Regions from separate parts of the Homo sapiens genome. Here all the other regions are linked to region 1. Evidence: promoter capture Hi-C in 16 types of primary human blood cells and fetal thymus (Javierre and others, 2016). All regions are on one chromosome and are shown on one strand. The core of a region is centred on a gene start or on the middle of the fragment in contact, and the rest is flanking DNA. Distances in the headings are between cores, read along the strand shown.

What was found. Contacts are between HindIII fragments. The CHiCAGO score rates a contact against its expected background, and 5 or more counts as called.
Region 2: a contact is called between a fragment that was not itself captured here and the fragment with the promoter of DORIP1 in region 1, in 14 of 17 cell types (activated CD4 T cells, naive CD8 T cells, total CD8 T cells and 11 more). The highest score is 14.5, in activated CD4 T cells.
Region 3: a contact is called between a fragment that was not itself captured here and the fragment with the promoter of DORIP1 in region 1, in 7 of 17 cell types (naive CD4 T cells, total CD4 T cells, neutrophils and 4 more). The highest score is 8.8, in naive CD4 T cells.

Annotation. Positions count from the first base shown.
Region 1 is chr14:44,894,635-44,898,715 of GRCh38, forward strand. DORIP1 (dopamine receptor interacting protein 1) reads left to right here and starts at 2,641. Exons shown (of 5, transcript NM_001017923.2): 1 at 2,641-2,934. RefSeq lists enhancers at 2,286-2,335, 2,960-3,459 and silencers at 2,826-2,955, 2,976-3,295. The HindIII fragment of the contact is 3,873 bases long and covers 2,300-4,081 here.
Region 2 is chr14:45,156,437-45,160,869 of GRCh38, forward strand. It overlaps FANCM (FA complementation group M), which reads left to right. Exons shown (of 23, transcript NM_020937.4): 9 at 2,660-2,844. Among named protein-coding and RNA genes, the nearest start is that of FANCM, 23 kb to the left of the region's middle. The HindIII fragment of the contact is 887 bases long and covers 997-1,883 here.
Region 3 is chr14:45,172,639-45,176,603 of GRCh38, forward strand. It overlaps FANCM (FA complementation group M), which reads left to right. Exons shown (of 23, transcript NM_020937.4): 13 at 417-572; 14 at 2,433-3,965. Among named protein-coding and RNA genes, the nearest start is that of FANCM, 39 kb to the left of the region's middle. The HindIII fragment of the contact is 8,866 bases long and covers 1-3,965 here.

The DNA of each region.
Region 1 (4,081 bases), core at 1,391-3,890:
TTGTTTTTGTTTTTTTGTTTAGATGGAGACTCGCTCTGTCGCCCAGGCTGGAGTGCAGTGGTGTGATCTCGGCTCACTGCAAGCTCCGCCCCCCTGGTTCACGCCATTCTCCTGCCTCAGCCTCCCAAGTAGCTGGGACTACAGGTACCCGCCACCATGCCCGGCTAATTTTTTATATTTTTAGTAGAGACGGGGTTTCACCATGTTAGCCAGGATGGTCTCGATCTCCTGATCTTGTGATCCGCCCGCCTCGGCCTCCCAAACTGCTGGGATTACAGGCGTGAGCTACTGCGCCCAAGCTGCGCAACTAATTTTTGACAAAAGCACAAAAGCAACCCAGTGGAAAAAGTACAGGCTTTTCAAAAAAAAAATTGCTGCGATGACTGGGTATCCATACATCAAATATGAACTTGGATACATGCCTCAAACTATATAAGAAAGTTAACTACAATGCATCATACATCTAAATGTACAGCTTGAACACATAAAACTTTTATAAGAAAACATAGGAAAATTTCTTTGTGAGCTTGGGGTAGGCAAAAATTTCTTAGAAACAACACTAGAAATGTAATCCATAAAATAATAAATAAATTAAACTTTATTAAAAGTTAAAACTTCTCTTCAAAATACACTGCTAAGAGAATGAGGGCCAGGTGTGGTGGCTCACGCCTGTAATCCCAGCACTTTGGGAGGCCGAGGTGGGCAGATCACCTGAGGCCAGGAGTTTGAGACCAGCCTGGCCAACATGGTGAAACTCTGCCTCTACTAAAAATACAAAAATTAGCTAGGCATGGTGGTGCACGTCTATAATCCCAGCTACTCGGAAAGCTGAGATACCAGAAACTCTTGATCCTGGGAGGCGGAAGTTGCAATAAGCCGAGATCATTCACTGCACTCCAGCCTGGGTAACAGATCAGGATTCTGAAAAAAAAAAAAAAAAAAAAAAAAAAAAAAGGCAGAGTTGGGGGGCGGTAGGTAAGCAGAAACTTAAGTGTGATGGGCATACTCATTTGATCACAGTGATGGTTTAAGGGGTTATACATATGTCAAAACTGATAAAAATTATACACTTTAAGTATGCTCTATATATTCTATGCCAATTATACTTCAGTAAATATATCTAAAAAAACCCTACAACTCAGATGTCAGATTTTGAAGACGGTGGAAAAGATGCAGAATGGAAATTTCAGTTAAAGGCCTCAGTGATGTTTGTGAGTTATCCAAGTATTCAAGGAATCCATGCTTCCTCCATCTAGCTGAGACTCGGCAGAGTTTAATGAGCAATCTCAATACTATTCTCCAGAAATGGTGTCATCCACCATACTATGGCTGTTTTCAGGAAGAGAATGACCTAATCAGTATAAAATGAACTCCATGTCTTGTGAGAGATTTATAATTAAACACATAATCCACATTTACAAACATTTTTAAAGGGCTTTTCTACCTGTAGGAGAGGATTAATATTGAGAGTGAACTTTTTGCAAGTTTTCCAACACACTAGTTTATCTCTAAGAGCCTCAGTTTCCTCATCTATAAAATACCATAAGAAATAAGAAAAAACAGGAAACTAAAAAGAGCAGGCTTTGCCAGAGCTATTAATTATTCTTTTTTGGGCAGAGCCAAAACTCAAGAAATGGAAGTCTCTCTTCCATTTCTAGACTTTTTTAGAGAGATCCATGAGGAAGTTCCCCTCCATAGCTTTGGCCGACCATCACACCGGTCAAGAAGGCATCCAGCCTCTCCCAGGCTCAGCCTGTGACGGAAAACCACACTGATTTACTAGGATAGCCTTGAGCTCTCTCATTAGCCCTCACGTGTTCTGAACGTTAGAGCTAACTTTCCAGACCCTCATTATTTGTTGAAAGGCTGGATGGGGAAAATCTCAACCAGATCTCCATGCCTACTTGCAAGGAGAGGTAGTTTTTGCAGGGTGGCCTGTGTTCTCCAGATGCAGAGCCATACAGGGCCTTGCTTCTTTACGGGAGATACAAAAACTCGGCCCTAATAAACAGAAATAGTGGTTGAGCCCACAAACTAGCATTAAGTTGTCCTAACTGTAATTTCCAGCTCCGTCACTTGCTGTGTGGGACCTTATTATCTCCAAAACCCAATTTTTTCAACTTCACAATGGAATTAAAACAATCTAATTTTTCAAAATGGGGTTAACTTCCACTGTAAGTTACAGTATATTGGCCAATAATTAACTTGAACACTAAAGCTGGCATTTAACAGATCAATTCAACTGTTTTCTAAGTAAATACTTAAACGCTTAAAAAACCGTAATTTACTGAGAAAACAAAGCTTTCTTTCTAGGTTAAGAATTTGAGAAAACAAGACCCAGAAGCAAACTAAAATCAAGTCCTAAAATGGTACAAACCTCAAAAAGCCAATCAGGTTTGCCAATAAAGCTCCGCCTCCGTGCAAACTCTGCCCACTTCCGGCTTCCCCACCCACCTTCTACCAGTGGAACCCCGCCCCTCTCTGCGAGGTCCCGCCCCCCACACCTGATCCTGGTTCCCATTGGGCGAATCTGGATGCTGTATACACAGCCGACACACGCACATTAGGCTGGGGCGTCTTCGCGCCTGCGCAGCTGCGCTGTCAGGCGGCTGAAAACGGGGGGGTTGGGGGGAGGGGGGCGGAGGTCGTGCCGAATCTTCCTCCGTAATAAGAAGCGACGTGTCCCACTGTCCTGGCTCCGTGGGTCCAGTGAGATTGGGCCTGGGCGCTGGAGCTGCTGTGGCTCCCGCCGCGGCGGCTGCCATGGAGGCCATGCCAGAGCCCAGAACTCACGCCGGGGGAGGCCGAGACAGCCGGCGGTACTCATAGATGAGGCAGCGGCGGCGGCGGCGGCGGCGGCAGCCCGGGCTCTCCATGAGCAGGCGGCGGCGGCGACGGGTGCGGCGGCACCGGCAGTTTTCGGTCCCCAGGGAGGTACGAGGAGTTTGCTTCCTGGTGGACGGAGACTGGCCGGTGTGGGAACGCCTTCCGCGGCCCGGCCCTCCAGCCTATTTGTCCGCAGTTCTGAGCACTCGGCGGGGCACTGCCCGGGCAGAGGCGGGGGCGCCCAGCCGACTCGCGGGCCCCTAACTCGGGGACCCGCCCGCCTCGGTGCCAGGCCTCCCGGGCGCGGCTGCCCAGGGCCAGGGTGGGCGTGGCCGGAACGTGGGGGCTCCCCGGGGGCGCACGCCTAGCGTCCGCCTTGTCCCTGTCCCGAAGTCCCGCGCTGCTGGGAGCGGTAGCGCGTGGCTGTACAGGCGTATTTTAGGCGCTGATTTGAGAGGGGACTTTTAGAATCCCTGAGTCCTTAGGGAGTCTGGCGTTCAATGCCTTGGGCATGTGGTGGGGTCCTCACGGCTAGCTTGGGGTACCAATTTCCTCCCTTGGAAGTCACCACGAAAGAAAGATGTTTTGTCAAAGAAATAGAGGTCAGGAGAGTTTTCCAGGTTTATTCAAATTGGAGGGCCCGTAGAGCCTGGAGAATAAAGCCAGCGGAATACATCCTCCAGTCCTTCTAATTACAGTTCCTAGCTAAACAGCTAAGACAATTTTAAGTAAAGCTCTTCACAGCTATCTTTCCATCATTTTTCCCCACCCCTCATTTTTATTGCAATTTACTTTGGAACAAATCACCAAATTCATGATGAAACTAGTATCCTCTAGTTCTTCCAAACCTTCCCTCCTCCCGTTTTTTCCAGAGAAAGACTAAAGTTTCATGCCACATATGTCATTATAGTTTAATTCTCTTAGAGTGTAAGGGTAGTTACACTTCATTTGGTCATGTCTGAAGATAATGTGAAGAAAATATCCTAGAGATTTATGCTTCCTTCCCAATGCACTATTTTAGGAATCCGAACTCAGGCTCTTTAAGCAATCTTAAACCTTGCTACAAAGTTCTTTAAAATTCAACGGAAATAAATCAAACCATAAAGTTATTTTCGTTTTTAAAGTATTTGAATGCATAACTGTTTTTTAAAATCTTTGTAAACAAAACGAATCAGTATCTATTACGAAGAAACTGAGTTTGTGTTTTCCTAGGCTGCAGATTTGCCACACCCTCTTCTTCCTAAGTGGATGACTA
Region 2 (4,433 bases), core at 190-2,689, 260 kb after region 1:
GTAGTTTTGTGGAGCATAGACATTGATAACCTAGAAAAGTATTACGATAGTCTTGGATGATGACACATAATAGTGGTGTTCATCAAGGCAATAGTGGTCAAGGTGCTGGGAGATAGATTCTAGATATATGTTCAAATTGGAGCCAACTTATTTATTGTATTTGTTGATGGATTAGACGTATGGTATAAGAAAAAGGGAATTGGCCAGGTGCAGTGGCTCACACCTGTAATCCCAGCACTGTGAGAGGCCGAGGTGGGCAGATCACGAGGTCAAGAAATCAAAACCATCCTGGCCAACATGGTGAAACCCCGTCTCTACTAAAAATACAAAAATTAGCTGAGTGTGGTGGTATGTGCCTGTAGTCTCAGCTACTCGGGAGGCTGAGGCAGGAGAATCTCTTGAACCTGGGAGACGGAGGTTGCGGTAAGCCAAGATTGCGCCACTGCACTGCAGCCTGGCAAAAGAGTGAGACTCTGTCTCAAAAAAAAAAAAAAAAAAAAAAGGAAAAAAGGAATCATATGGCTGGGTATATACATTTATGTGTACATGTTTGCAAATGATTACATGAGCAAAGTGAAAAATGAAGAATAGAGATAAGTATGTGAGGTAATATGTATGTTAATTAGCTTGATTTAGCCATTTCACAATGTATATAGACATCTCAAAACATATTGTACAACATAAATATATACAACTTTTATTTGTCAATTAAAAAAAAGAATAACAAAAGAAAGAGCAAACATGTTAAGATGTTTTTGAGACACCTAAGTGTCAAGTAGGCATTAGATAACCAAATCTGGATCTCAGAAGAATGATTGCTGCTGTTTTTACATATTTACATATATGTGAATACATTTTGGAGTTATCAGCATAAAGGTAATATTTAAAGTTTCAGGAATAGATGTGATTATCAGGACAACAGTTTAGAGATATACAGAGGAGGGTCCAGAATGGAGTCCTGAAGAATATCAACAGTTAAGAGTTTGGAGGAAAAAAAGCTTGGGGAGGAAACTGGACAAGTAAAATGTTAGAGAAGCTGAAGAAAGAGACTATTTCAGAAGGAAAGAGGAAAGTGTGTTAAACTAAAAAGTGTCGATTGAACTTGGCAGTATGGAAGTTATTGATGATTTTGCTGAAAGGAGCTTTAGTGGAATGAGGGTAAAAAGGCAGGCTGTGACAGATTGAAGGAGATACAGGTTTTGTGATGAAAGTAGCAATTCATTCAGGAGCTGGTCACATACAGAGACTTGATGCTTGATGCAATGATGATTCAAAAGAAGTTTGTTTAGAATAATTTTACTTGGAACAGCTGCTTCTTCAAGTCCTACGTTTTGTTTTTGTATTGTAAATTAACTTTATATTTAATAAGTCATTTATTCCTTAGAGGAGTTGTGAAGATTAAATGAGTTAACATACATAAAATGCGTAGTGCGGTCCTTGGAACACATATGATGATTAAGATAATAAAAATCAGTAGAGGTTGGATGTCGTGGCTCATGCCTGTAATCCCAGCACTTTGGGAGGCTGAGGTGGGCAGATCTCTTCAGCCCAGGAGTTCGAGACCAGCCTTGGCAACATGGCAAAACCCCGTCTCTACAAAAAAATTTTAAAATGTAGCTGGGCATGGTGGCATGAGCCTGTAGTCCCAGCTACTCAGAGCATGAGGTGGGAGGATCACCTGAGCCCAAGAGGTCGAAGCTGTAGTGAGCCATGATGGTGCCACTGCATTCCAGCCTAGGTGACCAAACATGACCCTGTCTCAAAAATAAAAACAAACAACCAAAAACCCCACACAGTATGCAATAATTAGCCAATTACTATATGTGCAAAACTATATACTGTTTCATTTATACATCAATCCATATTAGATATGAAGAAACTAAAGCTTAAAGAGTTTAAATAACTACCATGATCACCAATCACCCAGAGAATTAAGTGCCCAGCCACAAAGATCATGTTCTTATTAGTGCATTCTACTGCCCGCCACCCCCCTACCTCACCCGCCCCCCAGCACAGACATATCGGGAGCAGCTTTGGAATTCACTGTAGGGTATGTTCTGCAGTTGTCTTTGGAGAATTTGAAAGTATAGTAGATTTGAGGACAGAATGCATGGCTTGGATTAAGACATTTCCTTTAGTGAACAGAAAGGAAAGGGAAGACTTATGAAATTAGGGGGAGCTGCATAGTTCTGTGCTTCTGGCCATCTTAGAAGGTAAAGGGAAATGATAGCCATTATGCCTGAGTTGAAGGACTAGTCAAAAGTGATTCAGATAATTCATATTTGATTTGTTTAGGATTTTATTTTATGACAGCCAATGGTAATAAGCTAAGATTATTAAAATTAATAGAGAATATAGTTTAAAAAATTTCAAGATGTTTGAAATTATTTATTTATTTGTATGTTTGTTTATTAGAGACTGGGTCTTGCTATGTTATGTTGCCCAGGCTGGTCTTGAACTCCTGGGCTCAAGCGATTTCCCCATCTCAGCCTCCCAAGTAGCTGGGACTATAGGTGTGTGCCACCACATCCAGCTGAATTATTTTTTTGAAAGAATTATCATTCGTTAGCATTAACACTTTCAGGTTTGTCTTTTGAACTATTTCTTGTCTAAATGCTTTGTAAAAAGTTGTAATTAAAGTTTTTATATATATATATAGCTGAAAACACTACTGAAAAGAAACGTGATGAGACCCGAGTTATGATCTTCTCTTCATTTCGAGATAGTGTTCAAGAAATTGCAGAAATGCTTTCACAGCATCAGCCAATTATTAGAGTAATGACTTTTGTCGGCCATGCCTCAGGGAAAAGCACGAAGGGTTTTACCCAGAAGGAGCAACTGGAGGTAATTATTTTTGGAATTGATAAAAATAAAAATAAGATTGATTAGCTTTGCACTTGTTCTTTTTTTGTTAGTTTTAACTCACTGGTCAATTAGCTACTTAAAAAGAATTTTACAGTAAACGTGTAGGTAAAAATAAGCATATTTTGAAAGATGATAACAAATGTTTTATGTGGTTTTGGAACTTTTTTTTTTTTAAAGTAATGTAAAGTGTAAAAGTTAAGCAGAAAAGCTGTGGAATTATATTAACTGGGTTGGAATCCTGACTCTACCACTTAAAAGTTTCTTTACTTCCTCTTCCTCAGTTTTCCTTATCTGTAAACATACATCATAGAGTTGTTGTAAGCATTGAAAGAGATCTTATTGTAGAGCCACCAATAAATGTTTATTAAGTCGCTTTAATAATTTATTCTAAACAAATAATTAGCCTCTTTTTATTTATTTAAAAATCTTATTTTAGAAGTGGGGTCAGAAGAAACCATGATAGTATTTAAGGTAGCCTTATGCTCTGAGTAAGAGGACATTCGGTTTTCTAAGTGCTGTGATGTTTTGAGGGAAATTTTACATTATTGATTTTTATAAAATCTATGCAGCTTTTTATAAATTAACTATGTAAGTCTATACTTGAGTAGTGACTGACAATTAGATATCTCTTTAATTTCTAATTAATTTTGACAGATCCTTTTTTGATTCTGCAGACGTTAGTAGATGAGGTTTTTTTTTTGTTTTTTTTTTTTTTTTTAGATGGAATCTTACTCTGTTGCCCAGGCTGGAGTGCAGTGGTGTGATCTTGGCTCACTGCAACCTCCGCCTCCCAGGTTCAAGCAATTCTCCTGCCTCAGCCTCCAGAGAGCTGGGATTACAGGCACCCACGCCTGGCTAATTTTTGTATTTTTAGTAGAGATGGGGTTTCATCATCTTGGCCAGGGTGGTCTCAAACTTCTGACGTCTGGTGATCCGCCCGCCTCAGCCTCCCAAAATGCTGATATTACAGGCATGAGCCACCTCGCCTGGCTGGGAGGTAGTCTTCTTCTTCTTTTCTTTTTTTTTTTTTTTTAATTTTGAAATGGAGTCTCTCTCTGTCGCCCAGGGTGGAGTACAGTGGCCCAATCTCGAGTCACTGAAACCTCCGCCTCCCGGGTTCAAGAGACTCTCCTGCCTCAGCCTCCTGAGTAGCTGGGACTACAGGTGCCCACCACCACGCCCAGCTAAGTTTTTTTGTATTTTTAGTAGAGACAGGGTTTCACCATGTTGGTCAGGTATTCTTTTTTTTTTTCTTTTTTTTGAGACGGAGTCTCGCTCTGTTGCCGAGGCTGGAGTGCAGTGGCACGATCTCAGCTCACTGCAAGCTCCGCCTCCCGGGTTCACGCCATTCTCCTGTCTCAGCCTCCCGAGTAGCTGGGACTACAGGTGCCCACCACGCCCAGCTAATTTTTTGTATTTTTAATAGAGACGGGGTTTCACCGTGTTACCCAGGACGGTCTCCATCTCCTGACCTCGTGATCCGCCCGCCTCGGCCTCCCAAAGTGCTGGGATTACAGGCGTGAGCCATGGTCAGGTATTCTTTAAATACCTTTTATACCTGCCCTCAC
Region 3 (3,965 bases), core at 534-3,033, 280 kb after region 1:
AACTTTAAATTTGATGTTATTGTTTATTTTGTTTATTATTAACAAATTCTTTGTTAACTTTGTGAAAGTCAAGAGAACTGATCAAAGGTTGTAGATGTGCCTGGAGAGCTGGGAAAACAACCTCAGAAAAGATTTCTTTTAAAATATTTAACTGTTTGCTCTTAACATGGAACTATATAAACAGGAATATTGTCAACTTGTAAGTCATATAACAGTTACTTAACAAATATATTTTAAAGGGCATCTTTCTGCTTTATGAAATTATTTTCTTTTTTTCTTCTGAGATTTTAGTTGGGAGTATCTAAATGGATCCAAATTATGTTAAGCTGATTATATGTATATTGAGTGTTTTTTAAAATTAGTTTGTGAAATCTCAGTATGTTTTCATCATTTTTATTACTTTTTAAATAATTAAGGCTCAAGAATCAACCACTGGAATTCATCAACTCTCTCTCTCTGAATGGAGACTGTGGCAAGATCATCCTTTGCCTACACATCAAGTTGATCACTCAGATCGATGCCGCCATTTTATAGGCCTTATGCAAATGATAGAGGGAATGAGACACGAAGAGGTGGGGTTTTATTGTAACTTTCTCTTGCTGGTATGATAGTAAAACTAGAGTACTTAGCTTTTATTTTTCTTAATTTGAAGTAATAAGAAATACTTTGTTTTTCTGTATAGTTCCTTGTGATCTCAGTAAAGAATGAGTTTTCTGCCTTAAGAGAAGAAATAGATTTAATTAATTAGAAGAAGAATATCATCTGTAAATATTGATAGACCAGAGTAGAATTTTAATATACTTAAATGATTTATGTAAACTGTTTGTAAACCTTATTTAGGATTCTTTTGGATTCGGATTTATTGAAATACTCTCTGTCATCTAGGTTATTTGATATCTTTCTTGTATCCTGGTCCTAGTTTAGAGAATTATAGATTCCTTGAGCAGTTCCTTGATTATTCTTCCTAGAGTCAGCATAGTGAACCAATTATGAGTGTGAAATCCATAGTGCCTGGGTTAGAATCCTAACTCTGCCTCCTACTGATTGTGTGTTTGTAAGTTATTTAACCTCTCAGTGCTTCAGTTTTATCTGTAAAATAGTCATAGTGATAATACTTATTTCATAAGGTTGTTGTGAGGATTAAATGACCTAATATATGTAAAGCACGTAGTAGCTGGCATATGATAAGTACACAGTAAATTGTAGCTCCTATTTTTATTATTAGCCTTTGATCATGCATACATGTAAATAAAGTAGTTAGATGTGGATCCCAGCAAAATGTGTGCAATCAAATTAACATATATTTATTGAGTGCCTTCTGTGTGCCACACTCTATTCCCTGCTTTATGGCTATAACCGTTAGCAAACAGAGAAAATATTCTGTTTATGTGGAGTATATATACTAGCAGGGAGACAGACATTTGCTCACATTAATGCTTATTATATTTATTATTCAAAAAAGCAGAGGGCCAGGTGCGGTGGCTCATGCCTGTAATCTCAGGCTTTGGGAGGCCGAAGCAGGCAGATCACTTGAGGTCAGGAGTTCGAGACCAGCCTGGCCAATATGAGGAAACCCTGTCTGTACTAAAAATACAAAAATTAGCTGGGTGTGGTGGCACATGCCTGTAATCCCAGCTACTCAGAAGGCTGAGGCAGGAGAGTCACTTGAACCCGGGAAGCGGAGGTTGCAGTGAGCCAAGATCAAGTCACCGTACTCCAGCCTGGGCGACAGAGCGAGACTTTGTCTAAAAAAAAAAAAAACAAAAAAACCAGAGAGGTAACTGCTTAAGTCTATAAGTAGTAGAGGAATCCTGATTAAAGTAGCATTCTTAGGGGAAAGGAGGGATGGTGGAGATTGTAAGTTTTAGCTAATAACTTAGAGATAAGTAAGACTTAGAAATTCACTATACGAATCCTTGATTAGGAACTTTGTTACAAATAGAAGTATATTCCAGGATACAACCTAGCAGACATACAGGTACTACTATGTTGGACATTCCAAAAGCTATTCTTAGTTTACTGTCATTGAAAGAGTAAATTTAACAAATGTATATGGTTTTTATTAATATATGTTTTTAAAATATCTATTTTTAAGAAATTAGAATAATTCAGTTAAATGTTAGAAATGTAAAACTCACTATATTCTTATGTATTCATTCAATTTGTTCTTCCTACAAATAGTTACCAAGGGTCTTTTGGGTATTAAGTACTGGGGATACAAAAAAGTTAACTGATTAATGATAACTTGATAGTTTCACAGTAGTGTACTTTATAATTTTGATTTATCGGAATAACTTTTAAGGTATAAAAGAATATCACTGGAACAATGTAATAATATAAATATTTTAATATAGAGTGAAACTCCTCTCTTAGATTTGGCTTTCTGTTTTGTTTTGTTTTCCTGTGGCTTTTTAAATTTTCCTTATTTATAGGGAGAATGCAGCTATGAATTGGAAGTTGAATCTTATTTACAAATGGAAGATGTTACCTCAACATTTATTGCTCCCAGGAATGAATCTAATAATCTTGCCAGTGACACCTTTATCACTCACAAGAAATCGTCATTTATAAAGAACATAAATCAAGGCAGTTCATCCTCAGTGATAGAATCTGATGAAGAATGTGCTGAAATTGTTAAACAAACTCATATCAAACCTACTAAAATTGTTTCTTTAAAGAAAAAAGTGTCTAAAGAAATAAAAAAAGATCAGCTTAAAAAAGAAAATAATCACGGTATTATAGATTCTGTAGATAATGACAGAAATTCCACTGTTGAAAATATTTTTCAAGAAGACCTACCAAATGATAAAAGGACATCAGATACAGATGAAATTGCTGCCACATGTACTATTAATGAAAATGTTATTAAAGAACCGTGTGTGTTATTAACAGAGTGTCAGTTTACAAATAAATCCACTAGTTCACTTGCTGGAAATGTTTTAGATTCTGGTTATAACAGTTTCAATGATGAAAAATCTGTTTCATCTAACTTATTTCTTCCATTCGAAGAAGAGCTTTATATTGTTAGAACAGATGACCAATTTTATAATTGTCACTCATTGACAAAAGAGGTACTAGCTAATGTAGAGAGATTTTTATCTTATTCTCCTCCGCCTCTCAGTGGACTCTCAGACTTGGAATATGAAATTGCTAAGGGTACTGCACTTGAGAATTTGCTTTTCTTACCCTGTGCAGAGCATTTACGAAGTGATAAATGCACCTGTTTGCTGTCACATTCAGCTGTGAATTCTCAACAGAATTTAGAATTGAATTCACTTAAATGTATAAATTATCCATCTGAAAAAAGTTGCCTTTATGATATACCTAATGATAATATTTCTGATGAGCCAAGTCTCTGTGACTGTGATGTACATAAACATAATCAAAATGAAAATTTAGTACCTAACAATCGTGTTCAAATACACAGAAGCCCTGCACAGAATTTAGTTGGAGAGAACAATCATGATGTTGATAACAGTGACCTCCCAGTATTGTCCACTGATCAAGATGAAAGTTTGCTGTTATTTGAAGATGTTAATACAGAGTTCGACGATGTGAGTCTTTCACCCTTGAACAGTAAAAGCGAATCTTTACCTGTGTCAGACAAAACTGCTATTAGTGAAACGCCTCTGGTCTCTCAGTTCTTAATTTCTGATGAACTTTTGTTGGACAATAATTCTGAACTCCAAGATCAAATCACCCGTGATGCTAATAGTTTTAAATCTCGTGATCAGAGAGGTGTACAGGAAGAAAAAGTGAAGAATCATGAGGATATTTTTGATTGCTCTAGGGATTTATTTTCTGTTACCTTTGATTTAGGATTCTGTAGTCCAGATTCTGATGATGAAATATTGGAACATACATCAGATAGCAATAGACCTCTAGATGATCTATATGGAAGGTATTTGGAAATTAAGGAGATAAGTGATGCAAATTATGTTTCGAATCAAGCACTAATACCAAGA